Linked DNA regions of Homo sapiens: regions 2 and 3 are each linked to region 1. The links are contacts of gene promoters, found by promoter capture Hi-C in human tissues and cell types (Jung and others, 2019). All regions are on one chromosome and are shown on one strand. The core of a region is centred on a gene start or on the middle of the fragment in contact, and the rest is flanking DNA. Distances in the headings are between cores, read along the strand shown.

Region 1 (4,296 bases), core at 1,441-3,940:
CTACTTCTAAGAAAAAAAGATTCCTTTCAAAATATTAATGCTCATTGATAATGCCCCTAGTCACCCACGAGCTCTGATGGAGATGTACAAGGAAATGAATGTTGTTTGGATGTCTGCTAACATAACATCCATTCTGTAGGCCATAGATCAAGGAATGATTTTGACTGTCAAGTCATTTTATTTACAAAATACATTTTGTGAGGTTACAGATGCCATAGATAGTGATTTTATGCTGGATCTGGGCAAAGTAAAATGGAAGCCTTCTGGAAAGAATTAACTCTTCTAGATGTCATTAAGAACATTTATGGCCGGGCACGGTGGCTCACGCCTGTAATCCCAGCACTTTGGGAGGCCAAGGCAGGCGGATCATGAGGTCAGGAGATCAAGACCATCCTGGCTAACATGGTGAAACCCCATCTCTACTAAAAATACAAAAAAATTAGCCGGGCATGGTGGTGGGCGCCTGTAGTCCCAGCTACTCAGGAGGCTGAGGCAGGAGAATGGCGTGAACCCAGGAGGCGGAGCTTGCAGTGAGCCGAGACCACGCCACTGCACTCCAGCCTGGGTGACAGAGTGAGACTCCATCTCCAAAAAAAAAAAAAAGAACATTTATGATTAATGGGAAGAGGTCACCATATCAACATTAACAGGAGTTGGGAAGAAATTAATTCCAACCCTCATGGATGACTTTGAGGGGTTCAAGACTTCACTCGTGGAAGTAACTGCAGATTTGGTGGAAACAGCAAGAGAACTAGAATTGGAAGTGAAGCCTGAATATGTGACTGAACTGCTGCAATCTCATGATCCAACTTGAATAGATGGGGAGTTTCTTCTTACGGATGAGCAAAGAGAGAGTGCTTTCTTGAGATGGAAGCTCCTCTTGGTGAAGATGCTGTGATCATTGCTGAAATAACAACAAAAGATTTAGAATATTCCATAAACTTTGTTGATAAGGCAGTGGCAAGATTTCAGAGAACTAACTTTGAAGGAAGTCCTGCTGTGGATGAAATGGTATCACACAGCATCACATGCTACAGAGAAATCTTTCATGAAAGGAAGTGTCCATCGATGCAGCATTGTTGTTTTATTTTAGGAAATTGCCACAGCCATCCCAACGTTTAGCAACCACCACCCTGATCAATCAGCAGCATGGAGGCAAGACCCTCCACCAGCAAAAAGATTATGATTTGCTGAAGATTCAGATGACCATGTTAAATTAAGTTTAGCATAAAGCTGCCTCCTTATGCATTTTAAGTTCAGACTAACAATTTATTTCTTTCTCTCTCTCCCTTTCTCTCCCTTCCTTTCCTTTCCCTTCCCTTCCCTTCCCCTCCCTTCCCCTCCCTTCCCCTTCCCTTCCCCTTCTCTTCCTTTCTTTCTTTTCTCTCTCTCTTTCTCTCTTTCTCTTTTTTTGAGACGGAGTCTTGCTCTGTTGCCCAGCCTGGAGTGCAGTGGCACGATCTCTACTCACTGCAACCTCTGCCTCCCAGCAGAGAGAATCAAGAGATTCTCCTGCCTCTACCTCCTGAGTAGCTGGGATTATAGGCTCGCGCCACCAAGCCCGGCTAATTTTTTGTATTTTTAGTAGAGACAGGGTTTCATCATGTTGGTCAGGCTGGTCTCGAACTCCTGACCCCAAATGATCTGCCCCCGCCCCCCCACCAAAGTGCTGGGATTATAGATGTGAGCCTTTGCACCTGGCCTAACAGTTTCTCCATACATAGTGAATTGTAGACAACTACAATTGTAAATGTGTAAAGAGACTGTAACCTTGTAACAAGTAGCGAGTCTCAGTCAATCACAGCAGCGGAGTTTTGGCCAATCACAGGTGGCCAACTGTTTAAACAGTGCTCAAAATAGTCAGAGGTTGAGTTGCAACCAATCCAGCTGTTTCCATACTTGACTGCAATTTCTGTAAGTCATTTTCCTTTTTCTGTCCATAAATGTTATTTGAACATATGGCAGCCCGAATCACTCTGAACCTATTTTGGTTCCAGGGATTACTGGATTTTGGACTCATTCTTTGGTCAATTCAACTCTGTAAAGTTTAATTTGTCTAAAGATTTTCTGGGCCGGATACAGTGGCTCACGCCTGTAATCCCAGCACTTTGGGAGGCTGAGGCGGGAGGATCGCTTGAGCCCAGGAGTTCGAGACCAGCCTGGCCAACATAGCGAGATCCCGTCTCTACCCACAAATAATTTAGCCAGGCGTGGTGGCGCGTGCCTGTAGTCTCAGCTACTGGGGTTCTTATTCCTCGTGGCAACACATTTTGGAGAGGGGGAGGTATTCCTGTCTTTGCTGGGTGGGAGAACGGCCAGTGGGCAAGGGAGGACGAAAATGAGAACTGTGACTGCCAGAGGGCACGTCAATTTTAGGAAGAGAACGTAAGAAAGTTGGGTTCTGTGGAGACTTGGCATATCCACGCCACCTGGAAAATCATCACGTGCCCTCCGGGGCAAGACCAAGGCCTCAAGTCACCCCTCGCAGCCCAGTGGACCTCCCGGCCATCCCTTTCACGGCTCCACAGCGACCGCGAGCCGTTGCCCCGGTGAGAACCCCCCGGCACTGTGCGCGCCCCCGCCTGCCGTGCGCGTCCGCTTCCCTGGGATCCGGCGCCGCGCGCGCCCCCGCCGCGTCCCCGCCCCTTCCGGCCCGGGAGATTTGATTCCCTTGGCGGGCGGAAGCGGCCACAACCCGGCGATCGAAAAGATTCTTAGGAACGCCGTACCAGCCGCGTCTCTCAGGACAGCAGGCCCCTGTCCTTCTGTCGGGCGCCGCTCAGCCGTGCCCTCCGCCCCTCAGGTCAGTTCTCCCGCCTGCCCGCCGCAGTCGCAGTTGATGGCTGGGGTCTGGGCTGTGCGGGGCGCAGCGGCCCAAACCCAGTTTGCTCCTGGCTCTCGGGAGACTGGAGGATTTCATCGGAGCCCCGCGCTTTACCAGCCCTGTTCCCTGGATAAGATATTTGACCTTTCCGACCCGCGGTTTTCTTCTCCGTAAGTGGGGATAATGACCGTGTCTACTTAACAGGGTTATTGAAGAGGTGTTCAGGCTAAGCGTTTGCCACCTAGGAGGCTGCGATAGACGTGAATTCCCATTTCCCGTTTCCAGTTTCCGTGACTCTTCCCCGCGAAAAAAGTTGACAGAAGGGTTTCGAGTTTTTTCTGTTTGTACAACTCAGTTTACTGGGGCAGTGCAATAAAAAAGGAGATGTGTTATCACTACCTTTTCAGAGTCCAAATCCATCCTCTCCTATCATCTCCCCAGAGTAGTGGCTTCAGAGGCTCACACTAAAAGGGGAATTTTTTTTCTTTTTCTTCAAGACGGAGTTTCGCTCTTGTTGCCCAGGCTGGAGTGCAATGGCGCGATCTCGGCTCACCGCAACCTCCGCCTCCCAAGTTCAAGCGATTCTTCTGCCTCAGCCTCCCGAGTAGCTGAGCTTACAGACATCCGCCACCACGCCCGGCTCATTTTTTGTATTTTTAGTAGAGACGGGGTTTCACCACGTTGGCCAGGCTGGTCTCCAGCTCGTGTCCTCAGGTGATCCGCCCGCCTTGGCCTCCCAGAGTGCTGGGATTACAGGCGTGAGCCACCACGCCCGGCCTAAAAGGGGAATTTTCACCGAATGCTGTATCAGTAATAGGAGCAGCAGGATTGCTCCCACCAAGAAACCTGGTGTAGGGTTGTGGGAGCTGGAAAGGGTAGACTCAGGGAAGGCTGCCCAAGAGAGGAATCAGGTCCCTAGCACTTAGGACGGGTAATTACCTTTGGTATTTCTCCTTTGTTAGTGGAATGAGGTGAGTATCAGGAGCCTGGATTGTTGTTTAGAGGCCAGTGTTCCTAACTTTGGTTTAAATTTTGGTTTCTGTTTCCCATGGAGTCTGGCTAGAAAATCAGAAAAATCAGAAAAGCCCTTACTGGGCCTTCGTGGGCTTGTTTCTCCCAAGGGTCTGTCCTTTCTGTGTAACTACTGTGGACCAACTAGATGGGCAGATCAATCCCAATGAGTGCCTCATTGTTGGTGCTCCCAGAAGCCTTTGCAAGGGAGCAGGGCAGGATGCTAATTAAATGTGTTACAGGCCACATTATAAACCATTCTGAGCCCGGCGTGGTGGCTCACGCTTGTAATCCCAGCACTTGGGGAGGCCGAGGTGGGCGGATCACTTGAGGCCAGGAGTTCTAGACCAGCCTGGCCAACATGGCGAAACCCCGTCTCTACTAAAAATACAAAAAAAAAAAAAAAAAAAAAAATTAACCGGGCATGGTGGCGCATGCCTGTAATCCCAGCAACTGGGGAG
Region 2 (4,513 bases), core at 763-3,262, 620 kb after region 1:
AAGAAAGATGTTCAGAAAGTCTTATTTCTGTCTCAGACCAATAATTATCCCATATTTTGTATAAAACATTCTTTAAAATTGTTAGTTTAGATGATCACACAAAAGTAACTTTTCCAAGGGATGTAAGTTGCCTGCCACTGTACTACAGTCTGGCAGGTTCTACAGCCTGGAGAAAAATCTAGTAGCCTTTTAAAAAAAAAAAATTGTGTTAATAATAGCCTGTTTATGTTGTTGGATTTTCTGCTGTTTCATGTACAATTTTATATGAGCTACCAATTAATGCAGTTTATATGCAGTTTCTATCCTCAGCAAGGAATGAGGTGGTAATCCTGCCCTGCTCTTACTACAAAAGCTGGGCACATATCTACCAAGGAAAAATTTGTCCGCCTTCAGGAATTTCTTTCTCCCTCTTTCCTAATCAGTGCAAATCCATCAGTCACCTGAAGTCTCATCTCCTCCATGAAGCTTGTCCTGTGTGACCCTTGTAACCTGATATCCTCATCTTTAAAATTATTATTTGAATGCCTCATCCCTTTCCCTCTTACAGCGTTTTCATTATGATTTTCAGGTTCACACTCAAACTCAGACATTGCTGATGTTCTTTGAACTCCTCTCTGGCACTTAACTTGCCTATCCCACACAATTAAGCACTCTGACCAATTTTGTAGTTAGGGTGAAGTTTTCATACAAATGTGGATATATTGAAGACAAACTCTAAAAAATTGGGTACTTGCTATGCTAGGATAGTGGCCTTTAATATATTAAAGAATATTTCTCTTTTTGAGTTAGCATTTTTAATAGAAAATTAGATAATGGTTAAAACTCAAATTGGAGTACTTGATTCCTGGTGATTTAAGAGATGATACAGAGGTCCTATAAGAGACTTTAGAGCTTACTTACATATCGTAAGTGGTAGGTCAATGTAGAGTTAAGTAGCAACGGCCTTGCAACTCAAGAGCAAGACTGTTAGATAATATAGGTAGAGAATCAAGCAGGATGAAGCAGTGTATTTAGTATAGGGAATGGAATTATTTGGAGTAATGGTACTGGGAAAACATGTCTGAACAGATAATAGAGAGTGTGTGGGGTTAAGACAGACTCTAGTGGCACTGGGAGGATTGGGATAGAGCTTGGTGTTGCACAGATATTGTGCCTTAAGCTTAAGTGATGTATTGATGATTTTCATGGAGCATTTATTCTTTTTAAAGGGAAGATTTATTTGGGTGTTGTCCTGGTTAACTTCAGGAAGGCTTCTGTGTGAAATTATGCTGGAATTCGTTTTAAGGATGTAAATCCTATAAATCCACAGCTTGGGTGACAAATTGAATCTCTAACAAATAGAAGGAATTTAAGAGAAAAATCCTGTTGTCAAAGAATAGCTGATATTACAAACAGTTATTATATATACAAATTCTCTATCCAAAGGATGTCTTTGTATGTTGTTGAGATCATTGTCACTGCTTACTCTCAGGTGGGTATAGCAGAACAAGAACTCAGATTTCTTGGATTCTCTTTTTTCTTTTTTTTTTTTTTTTTGAGATGGGGTCTCACTCTATTGCCCAGGCTAGAGTGCAGTGGTGTGATCTCGGCTCACTGCAACCTCCACCACCCGGGTTCAAGCTATTCTCATGCCTCAGCCTCCCTAGTAGCTAGGATTACAGGCGTGCACCACCACACCTGGCTAATTTTTGTATTTTCAGTGAAGACGGGGTTTTACCATGTTAGCAAGGCTGGTCTTGAACTCCTGACCTCAGGAGATCCGCCCACCTCAGCCTCCCAAAGTGCTGGGATTACAGACGTAAGCCACCGCGTCCAGCCAGATTCTCATATTTTTTGTAACAGCAGATCCCTTATAAGTGCATCCCTTTGCACACCTAAATGCCTAAATCATATTGTTGATAAGTTTAATTCAGCAAATAACTGTTATTTAGCCACTAGGGACGTTGCAGAAGAAACTACAAAATAAAGTTTTTTTTGTTTATTTTCTTCTCATCTCCTTTAGATATATGAAAAATGCTGCTCATTAGCAATGTTTGTGATGTGGTCATGCAAACCAATGTGTTTTGCGTCTAATGTAGCAGTTTAATGAGTGGGAAGATGACTATCCTGGGGTGAATATGAAATGTGGCATGGAAAAGGAAACAATTGCTTGTGAATCCTGGAGAATCTGGTAAAGGGGGAACTTAAATATGTCGAGGAAGGGAAAGGCATTGTAAACCAGAAGAATAGATAGGGAGAACAGTTTGAGCAAATTGTTTTGGGAGGCATATTTAATGTAGTGAAGACTTAATGTAGTAGTGATTTAATGCGAATTAGCTGGAAGAGACACTACCTACAAAGCTCATAATTTAGTCCAAATTCTGAGGAGTAACTTATACTAGGTTGGTAATGGTACTACTGCAAGTAAATAAAATATTGCCAAAATAATTTTGAAATTAGAGTCACCACGATTTAATGACTTGATAAAAATGTTAATGGAGAGAAGAGAGATTGTAAGTTTGTGTGATTTTTTAAAATAATTCAACTACTGATAGCAATAGGGAAGTTGAAAGGAAGGGCCCAGTCCACTTTAGTTTTAGATGTGTAGAGTTTGAATTTTCTGCATTTGATTTTGGTGAAGGAATTATGAGGGTACTTCAAAAAATAAGACTAGAATGTTTGTGTCAGGCCCAGATATATAAATATATATAAATATTTGGGCATGGAAAGAAAATCCCAGGAATCAAATAATGTGCCAGTTTTATGATTTTGACACACTCAAACCTCTGCCTTTTGTTTCTCTGGGTCACTCTGTCCAGTACAACAATAGGCTTGCTATGTATTTTGGATGAACAATGAAAGAGAGTGAACTGTTCTTTAAAAAGCTGTTTATTATAGTGAAACTTTATCTGTAGATGCAGCCACTTTGCCAGATCTCTGATGGAACTAACAATAATTTTGTCTAGTTAATTTTAATAGTACGTCCTTTGTCACAGGTTGTTCAAATGAACAAATATAACATGATTTTTATGGCAGGTAAAGAAGAATATTTTAAATGGAAGGAGACCTGATGCAAAGAAAAAGGCATTATTTTTAGTGGTGCAGCGATTTTGGGACTTATTATAGTAGAACCTATTCTTTATAGAGATTATTTTGTTTGATTTTTCTATTTTGTTTTTCTTTGCTATCTAGCTTTGTTACATAGTGACCATTTTTAGCACTATAAAACTTAATGTAGTAATCAGATTTAGCAGATTATTATTTAAAGCTGAGCATTTAAAATTAACTTTTTGCCCTGTGTTCATTTTTGAATTTCCTGTTTTTATATAAATATTTGATTAAAAAGCTTTCTGTTTAATAAAATTGTGTTATGATTATTTTAATGTCGTTTGAGGACATTTAAAAAACCCTCCCAAAATATCTAGGATATTGTTTTAATCTGTAGCCTTCTCAGTAGAAATTAAAAAAATTGGGGGATACACTTTTTTGTGTGAAGGATAAAGCTCTTGTATTAATGACAACATTAGGTACTGGGTAGTATTTTAGTCATTATTAAAATTATTATTAAAAATTCTGTTATATATTGTAACGTATTAAACATTTGAGTATGTGTTGAGTTCATCATTTGAATACATAGTGCTGTTTTAAGTTATTTGTGTGTTATGAAGAAAAGGTCACTATGTTTTATTTTTATAAGGTGGAAAAAACAATCCAGAATGATAATCAAAGCCAAGGTAGAGGAACTTGTTAAACACTTTAAAATTAGACTTCCCCCCACCCCCAGCCTCTAGTGTGATACTTTGAAGGCAGCTGCTACAGATAAACTCTGGAGCCCCAGATGGTGGTTGCCTAATCCTCATGAGAATTCATGTCCTGGAAGCAGCTCTTATCTCTCCAGACCTGACATTGTCTGTGAGCTTTTGCTAAGGAGGGAATAATATAAACATGCTATGCATGAGTTTCACTTCTTGAATATGTCAAAGACACAGGAAGTTATAACAAAGTATAAAAAGAACCGAGTTCACATTTATTGAAAATGTTGTTATTTAAAGCACTTGATGCTAGCTTGTGATGATGAGTGATGGGGTGCAGTCTGGAAGGAAAGGCACAGTGAACTGTTTTTTATTTTGGAAACGAAAATGCCAGTCTCAGTGTTATGATTTCAGAGATGTAGATTTGTCATTAAGTGTGCAGTACCCAGAATAATTCAGTTATTTGATCTAATGTAAGAATGTAAAACAATCCATCCTGTAAATGAATGTCCTGGCTTTTATTTCCTATGCAGGAGTCCTCTCTGTTTCGAAAGTCAAAACAGCAATTGCACTATTCTGGATTTGATGTTTTGTTAAAAAAAAAAAGTTTCCGAAATCTGATCTGTGAGATCTGGGCCAGTGACAACTATAAGTGGTTGTCTCTTTGGCATAGCAGCCAAATATTCTGAAGTGAAATTGTGGATACTTTATCTACTTCAGGTAGTGTCTCATTTAATATATGAGCAGGGATGTTGGCACTGTCATCATGAATAATTGTTGAA
Region 3 (4,805 bases), core at 601-3,100, 840 kb after region 1:
AAGATGTATCAGATTGGTGGAGTGTCCAGGGCTAGATGAGGCAGAGTGAGGGAGGGGGAGAAGGACCAGTGGGCAGGAAGTGGTGCCATCAGGGAAGCCAGTGAAGGGCCACCCTTTGAGTGACATCTGTAGGACATGAGGCTCAGACCCTGTGGACCTGGGGGGAGTGGAGAATGTTCCAGGCAGGGGAACAGCTGGTGCAGGAGGTCTGAGTGCTGGGCAGAGGGGATCCCAGGCGGGATCCCAGGAAAGCTGGAGACAGAGGGAGGGAGGTCAGAGGCGGTGGTGTCGGCCTCTGTGGGCCGTGATTAGGACCCTGGCCTTACCCGGAGGGAGACAGGAGCCTTTGGAGAGATCCCTTACTGGAGCAGAGGCTTGGCTCTGGCTGTCCGTGAGAAGGGACTGGAGCAGGCCCAGGGCAGAAACAGTGGGGCAACCAGGAGGCTGGGGCAGAGGGGCCTCAGCTTGGACCAGGTGCAGGCGACGGAGCTGGGCTGGGGGACGAGATAGGCTTCTGGGTGTGTTTAAAGTTGGAGCCATGAGGATTGGGTGATGAGTTAGACTCCCTACCCCTGAATGCCCTCACAGGACCACAAGGTTCCTGGTGCTCTCACCAAATACCATCTGGAAGCCTCCTCATTCCACAGGTGATTGTGAAAATAAGACCTTAATTGTTTCATTTTGTTTTTTTCCCCCAAAACAAAACCAAATGTAATGACTAAGAAAAGCTCCACTTCCACCTCCAGGGCGCCGCTCCCTCTGGTGGAGGGTTGGCTCCTGATTTAGATGCTTTCTATATATGAATTACAGGGAAAGGGAGGCCTGGGAGCAGGTCCTTCTGGCCAGCTGGGCGGCTCTCAGGGGCTGCCAGGATGCCTGGCTTCTGCCTGAAGTGAGCAGCTCTCAGTCCCTATGGGCCACGCCTCTGCATCATCAGGAGAGGGCTTGGGAGCACACAGGGACTTTGGTCTTTCTCCTGAGAGCAGTGAGGAGCCACGGAATGCGGCAGGCAGGGGAAAGACAAGACCGGATTTGCTTTTTAGAGGAGACCCTTGAGCAACCCCAGGAGATCAGGTTGGAGGAGGCAAGGCCGGAGGCCAAGCGGTCTGGGAGGGGCCTTCAGGGAGGGGAGGAGGGAAGGGAAGTGGGGCCCACTGAAGGCTGGGGAGTAGCTCCCTGGGCTGCCCCCTGTTGGTCATGACTCTGCCCTGGGGCCCAGGCCCGATGTCCACCTCGAGCCTTAGCTCCTGCAGGTGCAGCTAGATGGAGTCTGAGCTGGTGCAGCTATGTGGGGCCTGTTCTGGGCTAGTGACTCACTTCTGAACGGCTTTGGCAGAATGAGGCAGTTCTCCCTTTCACAAAATTCATCACAGTTCAAGCTTTTGGCCCCAAACAGCGGCAGATGACAGAGGGATTTCCTGAGGTGGTTTATGGGACTTTTGCTGAAATGGTAGCATGAACTTCACCTGGGCCTGCAGGGAGCCATCCCCTGCCTCCATCCCCTTGCTCCTCCTTGGCCTGTCCTAAATCAGGGATGGGACCTTGGTCCTTACCCAGAGCAACCTTGGCCTTCAAGCAGCATGCCTGAGCTCCTCCCTCAGGTTCTGCTCAAACCCTTTTTCCTCAGAACCTGCACACCCCGCTGGGTCGTCACACAGCAAGGCCCATGCCTCCTCCTCCAGGAAGCTGCACTCTGCCCAGATCTCCTTGGATGATGCTAACTCATGGGGTGTGGGGAGTGTGGAAGCCCAGCTTCCTTGCCTGGGGTTTCAATAACCCTGAGATGTAACTTGCATTCCAGAGCGGCCCTCGGGATCACAATGAAGCACCTGCCTGCTGGACTTGGCCAGACATGGCACTGTTGGTCTTCCTTCCCTCCCCTCTCCTGCTTCCCACTCCTTTCCTGGTTTATTCTGGGGGCACTTCCTTAATCAATCACTTGCTCACAAATCCTCAGCAGAGAGCCTGCTTCTGGGGACCCGACCCAAGACACAGCTTCCAGGGGTCACTCCTGCTGTTTCTCAGCTTGGACGGATCCTCCTTGACTGCACCCCTATAAAACAGAATGCAACGCAGAGCTTGTCTCCTGGGGAGAAGCTTCCCAGTGGGACCAGTCCTGCACTGAGGTCCCATGACACCTTGGCAGGCCCTGTTCCTGGTGCCCGAAGACTGGCCTCGGTCCTGGGAGGTAGCCCCTCCCCTTGGCTCCACCCACAGTTGAGTCTTTGCACACAAAGTTGTTCTGCCCACCTTGGCTCTTGACTCCACCCCACCTCACAGCCTCTCTGGGCCTCCGTGGCTCCATCTATACAATGAGGGCACAGGCTCTGCCCCTGTGAGCGGTGGTGTGACGCTGGTTCTGGATTCCTGCTCCCAACCTCACCCTGCGGTAGCTGAGCCAGGACCTCTGGAAAAGAGGAGCCCAGCTTGTTCAAGAATGAACAGCTGGGTCCTGGCTCAGAGAATCAACCATTCTGGCTGTTACAACTCATTACTAAATCCCAGCTATGCCCTGAGGAGGATTAAGGAAACTGCTCCGGTAAAAAATCCCCAACAGAAAGAATGCACTCCCTCCCAGGGAGCCCTAGAAATCTGACCACGGTCATCTTCTCCTGGCGGTCTCTAACCAATGCACATTCCGGGTGTTTGCGTGCCAGAGGGGCCAGCTGGGCATCTGCGCGATTGGCCAATGCCTGGCAGAAAAGCAGCCCAGGGTGCTAGCTTTCTGATTCACGGGCAGGACTTCAGGTAATGCCAGCTGCTGAGGGAGTTTCGTTAGGCTGCATCGCCCCAGGGAGGAAACCTGAGGCTGGATGGCAAGAAGCCTGGACAGGGCACTGCTCTGCCTCGAACTTGCTGGTGACCCAGGCAGGGCACTGTCCCCTGTTAACTCTCAGCTTTCCTACTTAAAAACTGGGAATGGTATCCCCATTTACAGGGATGTACTCACTTACACAGAATATGTCTATAGAGTGTTCACCCTGTGGGGACCCATGTTGGGCACTGGAACCATGAAAAGGCTTGGACCCTACCCTGTCCTTGCCCTGTGTCGCTCCCAGGCTTGAAGCTGGGAAGGTTAAAGGAGAGGGTCCGAGGGAGAAGTGGGGTATGTATGTGGGGGCCACATTAGCACAAAGCCAGAGGCCTGCAACCATGATGCCTTGAGGCTATGGATGAATAAGCAGATGTAGCTGAAGGAGCCACTGGGGTTGGCTGGCAGGTCAGGACAGGGCAGCCATGAGGGTTGTGGTCACATGCCTCAGTGTTACTGTCTTAATCTATTTTCCGCTGCTATCACAGAATACCGCAGACTGGGTAACTTATACAGAAAATAACTTTATTTGGCTCATGGTTCTGGAGGATGGGAAGTCTAGAAAAATAGTGCCAGCATCTGGAGAGAGTCATCCTGTGGCACAAGGCATCACATGGCCAGCATGCACACAAGACAGAGAGAGAAATGGGGCCAAACTTATCCTTTTATCAGAAGCTCACTCCTGCCATAAGTAATCCACTCTTACAATAACTGCATTAATCTCTTCATGAGGGCAGAGCACCTCATGACCCAATCACCCCTAAAGGACCCATTTCTCAACACTGTCACAATAGCAATTAAATTTTATTTTATTTTATTTTTATTTTTTGAGATGGAGTTTCATTCTTATCACCCAGCCTGGAGTGCAGTGGCACCATTTCGGCTCACCACAACCTCTGCCTCCTGGGTTCAAGCGATTCTCCTGCCTCGGCCTCCTGAGTAGCTGAGATTACAGGCATGTGCCACCATGCCCAGCCACAATTAAATTTCAACAGGCATTTTGGAGAGGACGTTCAAACCACAGCAGTTACCTTCACCTGGATTTGAGTCCAGCTCAAGCGTGGTGACCTTGGGCAGGTCCTTCAGGCAGAAGGACTTGAGGCTCTCTGAGCCGCAGTTATCTTGACTTGAAAGTGAGAATCCTAACAGTGCCCACTTGAAGGCTTGTTGTGGGGTGAACACCACATAGTTTGAAGCCCGATCCTGTCTGAGTAGCGGTGGCTCTCTTGCCCCTCTGAATCTTCCAGGCTGGGGCCCTCTGCTCCCCAGAAGAGCAGACTGAGGGGCTGAGAAAGGGGCAAGTGGCTTTCTGTGTGGGGTGCAAGGCTGCAGCAGGCTGAGTCTGGGGGCAACCCAGGTCTGCTGATGAGCTGTTACCCTGCCCCCCAGGGCCACACCTCACTGGGAGCTGAAGCCTGAGCACATTTCCCAGGGGTCTGGGCTGGCCAAGGGGTCCCGACTGGGCTCTCTGCTACCCTCTGTGGCCAGCTGCTCATGTCTCTTGTACGAGAGCATCAGCTTCCAGCAGTCAGACAAAAGCCCAGGCAGGGCCGGGGTGAAAGCCACACTGCGCCTTGCCTGCTGCGCGTCATCGGAAAATGTTCGCCCCATCTGGGCTTCAGTTTCCATATCTGTATAATGGGCTTCCAGCATGTGCCCTGCCCCACCCCTCACCAAGCACAGACCAGAGGCAGGGCCCCCTCAGAGAGGAGACAGTCAGTCAGATGATCTCTATTCAAACCCAGTTCTGCTCCTTACCAGCTGTGTGACCGTGGGCAAGTCCCTCCACTGACCTGAGCCTCAGTTTCTTCGTCTGTAACTTGGGGTTCCTAAAATCAACTTCACTGGCCTTTGTGGGGATTAAACAAACTCTTGTGTGTGGAGTGCCTGGCACGGATCACTCACTCTCAGCGCAAGTTCCCTTCCGTTGGGGCCGCTCTCCGCCTCCTTACACCCTGATCTAACCTCACCTTCCACTGCCCATCTCAGCTGC

The links. Contacts are between HindIII fragments. The study calls those that stand out against the background at their distance.
Region 2: a fragment that was not itself captured here is called in contact with the fragment with the promoter of MELK in region 1 in 1 of the 25 tissues and cell types used here (dorsolateral prefrontal cortex).
Region 3: a contact is called between a fragment that was not itself captured here and the fragment with the promoter of MELK in region 1, in 1 of the 25 tissues and cell types used here (lymphoblastoid cells).

The regions. Positions count from the first base shown.
Region 1 is chr9:36,570,205-36,574,500 of GRCh38, forward strand. It overlaps MELK (maternal embryonic leucine zipper kinase), which reads left to right and starts at 2,691. Exons shown (of 18, transcript NM_014791.4): 1 at 2,691-2,803. RefSeq lists an enhancer at 1,410-1,909 and a silencer at 2,493-2,772. The HindIII fragment of the contact is 26,418 bases long and covers 1-4,296 here.
Region 2 is chr9:37,193,429-37,197,941 of GRCh38, forward strand. All of the region lies in intron 2 of ZCCHC7 (zinc finger CCHC-type containing 7), which reads left to right. Among named protein-coding and RNA genes, the nearest start is that of ZCCHC7, 75 kb to the left of the region's middle. The HindIII fragment of the contact is 4,086 bases long and covers 1-4,055 here.
Region 3 is chr9:37,410,280-37,415,084 of GRCh38, forward strand. The region is part of intron 2 of LOC105376035 (a long non-coding RNA gene); the gene reads left to right. Among named protein-coding and RNA genes, the nearest start is that of GRHPR, 10 kb to the right of the region's middle. RefSeq lists enhancers at 1-656, 434-483, 1,404-1,453, 2,239-3,029 and a silencer at 4,733-4,805. The HindIII fragment of the contact is 5,702 bases long and covers 1-4,701 here.